Regions from separate parts of the Homo sapiens genome. Here region 2 is linked to region 1. The links are contacts of gene promoters, found by promoter capture Hi-C in human tissues and cell types (Jung and others, 2019). All regions are on one chromosome and are shown on one strand. The core of a region is centred on a gene start or on the middle of the fragment in contact, and the rest is flanking DNA. Distances in the headings are between cores, read along the strand shown. Region 1 holds the start of ARL16 (ARF like GTPase 16). Region 2 holds the start of NARF (nuclear prelamin A recognition factor).

Evidence for each region. The method cuts DNA at HindIII sites, captures the fragments that hold promoters and counts their contacts. A contact is called where the count stands out against the background at its distance.
Region 2: the fragment with the promoter of NARF here is called in contact with the fragment with the promoter of ARL16 in region 1 in 1 of the 25 tissues and cell types used here (dorsolateral prefrontal cortex).

Annotation. Positions count from the first base shown.
Region 1 is chr17:81,682,547-81,685,568 of GRCh38, forward strand. It overlaps ARL16 (ARF like GTPase 16), which reads right to left and starts at 1,251. Exons shown (of 5, transcript NM_001040025.3): 1 at 1,147-1,251; 2 at 990-1,048; 3 at 467-580. The coding sequence starts at 1,207. It overlaps HGS (hepatocyte growth factor-regulated tyrosine kinase substrate), which reads left to right and starts at 1,465. Exons shown (of 22, transcript NM_004712.5): 1 at 1,465-1,557. The coding sequence starts at 1,521. RefSeq lists enhancers at 716-935, 1,153-1,447 and silencers at 1,036-1,115, 1,326-1,385, 1,596-1,695. The HindIII fragment of the contact is 7,981 bases long and covers 1-3,022 here.
Region 2 is chr17:82,457,447-82,460,468 of GRCh38, forward strand. It overlaps NARF (nuclear prelamin A recognition factor), which reads left to right and starts at 1,295. Exons shown (of 11, transcript NM_012336.4): 1 at 1,295-1,384; 2 at 2,546-2,626. The coding sequence starts at 1,358. NARF-AS2 (NARF antisense RNA 2) reads right to left here and starts at 1,073. Exons shown (of 3, transcript NR_184099.1): 1 at 227-1,073; 2 at 1-102. RefSeq lists enhancers at 634-783, 1,217-2,049 and a silencer at 814-1,633. The HindIII fragment of the contact is 15,922 bases long and covers 1-3,022 here.

The DNA.
Region 1 (3,022 bases), core at 1-2,500:
TAGCTTTAAACAAAGCTTTGGGAACAAGCAGAAGCAGAGGGAATCGAGTTTTATGAAGACGACCTGGTGTCACTCGTCTCTGTCCTCATGTGGCCATCAGTTCTCCATACTGGTATCCGCGGCACAGGCCTTATCAAGATGAGACCAACCAGAGGTACGTATAAGTCCAACATAAACACAGACGTACCGGGGAGTGACACAGAGGGCCAAGTCTGTTCTCTGCGGAGCAGCAGCCCTGCCCTCAGCAAGCCCTCTGTGAGCTCCTACCGGGGGCCTGGGAGCGCAAGCACCAGAAACCAGACAGGGTGCCCAGCAGGAAGCAACACTAGCTAAGACCTATTTCCATGAGTAGTATAGTCACTAAATAACCCAAACCCCTTTCTACACACAGCAAGGTTGGGGACTGGACGTCACAGAAATGTAGACACACTTCCCTAAAGGAAGCCCATATAGGATTACAACCCACCAGGAGAGAACGGCAGTTTCCATAGTAACTGGACCAGATGGGGCCCATGCACCCCCCAAGCTCCCGGATGGTGATCTTTCTCTGTGCCACGATGTCAGTAAGATTGGTGCCCACCTATAGGAAAAACCACGATGCAAAAAGAACAATACAACCGCTGTCCCGTTGTGAACTCCTGAAGAGCACCGTGCCCACACCTTACACGGTGGCCTGAACCCCGCAGACCCATTCTCCCTAACGCAGGAACGGCGAGCAGGGACCGACGCCCATCAGTAGCTGGACTCGCTGTGGGGGCGACCAGCCACAGGAAGCCGTTGCGAGGGGAGAGGAAGTGCCCGTGGAGGGCGGCAGGCCCCCTCATCCCGCGCCAATTATCCTCAGCTCGGGCCGTCCCCCGCTCCCGAAGGCTGGCCTTAAGTCACGACCTGACCCGCTGCGCCTCGGCGTGCACTTAGAGGAGCCCGGAGCTCTTCGCCAAGCGCAGAACTGACCCCCCGCAACTCCACCCGCGGGGGCGGACACCTACCGTGGGCCGTGTCGGGGGCGGCTCCCCCAGGTCGCCTTTCCCATCCCGGGAGCTCACCTGTGCGAAGCGGTCAAGGACCCGAGCAGCTAAAGGGTGAGTCCCCGCCCCACTCCGGGTGCCCCCCGCGCCCCGGTCCCGTCCCCGCGCGGAAGGATATCCTGCAGCCGTTTCACCAGCAGCGTCTTCCCGACGCCCGTGGCCCCCAGCAGGAGACACATTCCGTGCTTCGCTCCACCCGGCACCCGTAGCTCGGCGCCGCGGCTCAAGGCCCGCCCACCGGCCACTCTCATTGGATAGTTCTCACCTTCGGACTTCTCATTGGTTCTTAGGGCTCATTGTTCCAAGGGCGCGTCCAATTAGCGCGCAGCGTTAGCGGGAGAGCGGAAGACCCCGCCTCCTCGCGGCTCTAGGGCCGGCGCGGTGACGTGCGCGTGCGCGCACTGGAGGGAAAAGGCGGAAGCGGAAGTCGGGGGGCGCGCCAGCTCGTAGCAGGGGAGCGCCCGCGGCGTCGGGTTTGGGCTGGAGGTCGCCATGGGGCGAGGCAGCGGCACCTTCGAGCGTCTCCTAGGTAACGCGTCCCCACCCGACGGCTCGGCCTTGGTCAGCCCGCAGCCTCCGCCCGGCGCTGAGTCAGCGCGGCCCCGAGGGCCCGAGGGGCGCGGACCGGCCGCCCTGCCCGCCTCTCCCCGGCCCGCTGTCCTCCCGGGTTCGGAGCCGCCGATCCTGGACCCTCGGCGCGGCCGTGGGGTCGGCGTCCGTCGGGCGTTGGCAAATGGGGCTCTGCGAGGGTCCGCGCAGGGCGCCAGGGGCGCTCGGCGACCTCGCTCCTCCGCGGGCCCGGGCATTCGGCCGATTTCCTCTTGACCGACGAGCACCCGGCCGAGTGGGCCACAAGGCCTGAGTCATGAAAGTGGGTGACTCAGTCGGATGTTAGGCTCGCACTTGGGCTTCTGACCCAAAACACTGGGCCTCGAAGGGTGGAGCCGGCAGTGTTCTCTCTGGGACCTTCGAGCTCTCTTGGGGGCTGCGGGTCCCAGACCCACCTTTTGTTCCCACACTGGCTTCGGGAAGTGCCTAATGGTTTAGGAAGGCGTTTTCTCACGTTTTTGGAGGTGAAAGCTGATCCTATCTGAGCCTCCTGGAATTGACGCGTTTTGGGAGGGAAACGAATGTTGATGTGCACGTGCCCAGCAGCACGTGGAAAATGCGTCTAATGTTTGGGGGTAGGAGCTTGGGTGGTCGAATGGGCTGCCCAAGCTTGCCTTTTTGTCAAGTAGGGTTTTCAAGGAGACTTCAAGTGAGACACCTTCCTTGCCAAGGGAACCAGCAAGCAGACTGAGTATCTCAGCCACACAGGTAGTTCAGTGCTTCAGGGATGAATCCAGAGGTTAACTACTGAATCAGTATAGAAAGTGGACGTGGCTTGGCTTGTTAGATCGTTTCTGTATCCGGGAAAGGCGATGTGGGCAGAGCTGGAGCTGCCCCCCCAGAGGGGCCAGTTGTTGGAGACAGCAGTGATGTGGTATGATGACAGGTATGCTGGCGAGTCCTCCTTGGAGCCCCGTTCTGCCCTTATTTCCAAAGCACTTGGCTTGGAGCAAGGGGCCTGGAGTCTACACTGCAGGCCTCTCTAGCCCTTGCCCAAGCTAAGGTCCCATTGAAACCGGGAGCATCTGGGCGAACGGGGACTCCAAGGGACGGGTGATAGGGTTCTTTGTTGAGAAGCAGCCGAGCCTGATGTTTAAGAGTGAATCAGCCTCTGTCTCTGGTGAGCTGTGTGACTCACGGCAGTGCCCTCGCCTCTCTGCTGAGTGTCTTTACCTCGCTCGCGGGTTGTGGGAGGGCTTGGACCAGCACCTGGTGTGCTCTTACGCTGTTTGCTGCTTCCCTGGGGAGGATGGCACTTCCCTGCCCATCAGCACGCTCAGGAGGATTCTGTCATGCTTTTTCATTTGGTCCAAATGTCTAAAGGGGAAGGAGAGAGTCCCCCCCAGCTGCTGCCAAGCTGGGGTGCTGCACGGGGCGTCCAGCAG
Region 2 (3,022 bases), core at 45-2,544, 770 kb after region 1:
ATGAAGCTTCAGGCCCCTTCACGAGGGTCATGTCATCTCACCAGAACCACTCCATGGTCAGTGTCTCTTATCAGTAAGGAATACTGGTCAATTGGGCCGAAACTGCAAATGAGAGAGTTGTTATCAGCGGTGGAGTCTTTCGAAAGCGCTGGTTTCCGTTAAGCTCTTAGCCAAGAAAACCTAATGGTAGTTAGCCAAGGGTTGGCCTTAATAACAGGTGTCTCACCTCCCATCTGTCATGGCTGAGAACTGCCTTCAAGGCAACCCTGGGATCTCCTTAGCCAGTAGGGGGTTCGTGTAGTCAGTTGGGGGTCTTTGGATTTCATTTTCATTTCTCAGAGGACAGGAAGGAAGGCTCTAACATGGGGAATCCTGAGAACTGCTGCTGTCTGTTAAATACGCCTACAAGTTATTTTTCTTATGTCACACTCTCCCAGACATGTTCTTACTTCTCATTTCTGATTTCTGTAATACACACACACTGATTTCATAAAACGTTTATGAGTCCAACACTTCCATTATAGCCCTGTATCAATGTTTTGCTTAGCTGAAATCAATTTCTTGGAGGAGTAAGTGTTATCTTTACTTTGTAAGCTGTAAGGGCCCAAATCAATGTACTTGGTAAAACTATCCATAGTGAACACACGCAAATGTCAAATGGCCATCATTTAGCATCTGCCCTCGGGCTTCCGGGTCCATCACGTGGTTACTGACAGGCAGGCCGCGCATGCGCGCTGCTACTCCGCCGAGCCTACGTGACACGACGTCAAGTGGCAATGGCGGCGGACGAGGGCTGTGCCCCCGGCCCGCCCCGTTAGGAGCCGCGAGTAAGGCGAGTGTCCAACGCCGAGCTGGCTGACAGAGCCCGGCCGCGGCCTCCGCGGGCCCAGGGGCCTCCAGGCCCCGTGACCACCGGACCGAGCACCCTGGAACGGCCCCAGCTTGGCCTCGGGACAGTCCGCGCGCTCACCGACTCCCTGGTGAACGCCGCTTGGCCGCCGCCGCCGCCGCAGGACCCACGAGAAGCGGAAACCGGCGCAAGGACCCGGTCCCCCCGGCGCCGTACGTGGAGTGAGCCTGCGGTCCGCCCCGCGCGCTCCGATTGGCTCTGGGGCCTGGCCCGCCCCTTCCCGACACTGTCATTGGCCTAGGCAAAGCCGTAAGGGTGGGGAATCCTATTGGCCCAGGGGTGCGGCTTGTCCTCTCCCGGTGCTCTCATTGGCCGAGCGCGGCCGTTGGGGGTGAGGCCGCGTCGGGGGAGGACAACAAAGGGCCGCGGGCGGCGGGCAGTGGTGTCCCAGTCTCCCGGTGCTTCCCTGAGGCTGAGGCGCCCGGCCTCCCGCCCGCCGCGCTCCAGATGAAGTGTGAGCACTGCACGCGCAAGGTGAGCGCCGCGGGCCGGGGAGGCGCGCGCCTGGTGCTTGTCCTGTGGGGCTCTGGGCGGCCGAGGTTGGCGGTCCGGGCCCGCCGCTCGCTCGCTTCAGGGCTCTTCAAGGCGCCCCCGGCCTCGGCACCCTGGGCCCGCTCGGCGTGGAGGCGGCCGGCGCGGGGTCCGCTGCGCTCTGCAGGGCGGGTTCGGTCTTCGCGGTTCTCCCTGAACTTGTCCATCTTTCCCACGCCCGCGAAGCGCGGAAACGCACGGAGACCGAGCCTCTCGTGCCGCGCACCACAGTCCGAGTAAACAGCGGTCGTGGCGGGAATGATCAGAAGCGTTTCGAGAGGGTTTTAGGCGTTTTCGAACCTGCCCCTCTGAGGGTCACCGAGCAGCCGGTGCAGGGGCGGAAGCGGGTGACGGCTGCTGACCGGCGCCTTCCGCGGTTGTCTCCAGGCCATGGCAACAACCGCGCAGCGCACGCAGGGGGGTTTTGTAGCTGTTATTGCCGGAATGGGCTCCTGTGGATGCTGCTCTGTGGCTGGCACTTCTGCGCGTGACGCCGTGGCAGGAGGCTTCCTAACATTCCATGGGTCGTTCATCCCCGGTGGTGGCTGCGTCCTATTCTAAGTACACCTGTGTCCAGGGGAATTCGCCTGTGGGGTGAAGGCTACAGTTGCTTCTGCTTTTTTATTATTGTAAACAATAGAGATGTGTGTGTGTCCTTCAGTACCTGTTTCACTAGAAGGGTTAGAAGGATAGAAGGCCAGGCACGGTGGCTCAAGCCTGTTATCCCAGCACCTTGGGAGGGGAGGCCGAGGCGGGTGGATCACCTGAGGTCAGCAGTTCAAGACCATCGTGGCCAACATGGCGAAACCCAGTCTCTACTAAAAATATAAAATTAGCTGGGTGTGGTGGCGCACACCTGTAATCCCAGCTACTCAGAAGGCCGAGGCAGGAGAATCGCTTGAACCCGGGAGGTGGAGGCTGCAGTGAGCCGAGATTGCGCCCCTGCACTCCAGCCTGGGTGAGAGCGAGACTCCGTCTAAAAAAATAAATAAATAAACTAAAAGAAAGGATAGAAATACATGAGCTTCATTGGTCAGAATGTGCACATTTTCTTAAGGGAGACGAAGTAAAAGTTCATTGATAATGTTCCTTTGCTTTTTTAAGGAATGTAGTAAGAAAACAAAAACTGATGACCAAGAGAATGTGTCAGCCGATGCACCGAGTCCAGCCCAGGAAAATGGAGAGGCAAGTAGATTTTTCAGTTTTGTATCAGCCCAGAGTAAACTACTGCTGCTGTTTTTCTCTTTGGGGGCTCACAGCACCGTGCACATCACTGCTTTAAAGAAGACTGAAGTACGCGGGCATGGTGGCTCACGCCTGGAATCCCAGCACTTTGGGAGGCCGAGGTGGACGGATCACTTGAGGTCAGGAGTTTGAGACCAGCCTGGCCAACATGGTGAAACCTTATCTCTGCTAAAAATACAAAAATTATCCAGGTATGGTGGTGTACGCCTGTAATCCCAGCTACTCAGGAGGCTGAGGCAGGAGAATTGCTTGACCCTGGAAGACAGAGGTTGCAGTGAGCTGAGATTGTACCACTGTACTTCAGCCTGGGCAACAGAGTGAGACTCTGTCCCAAAA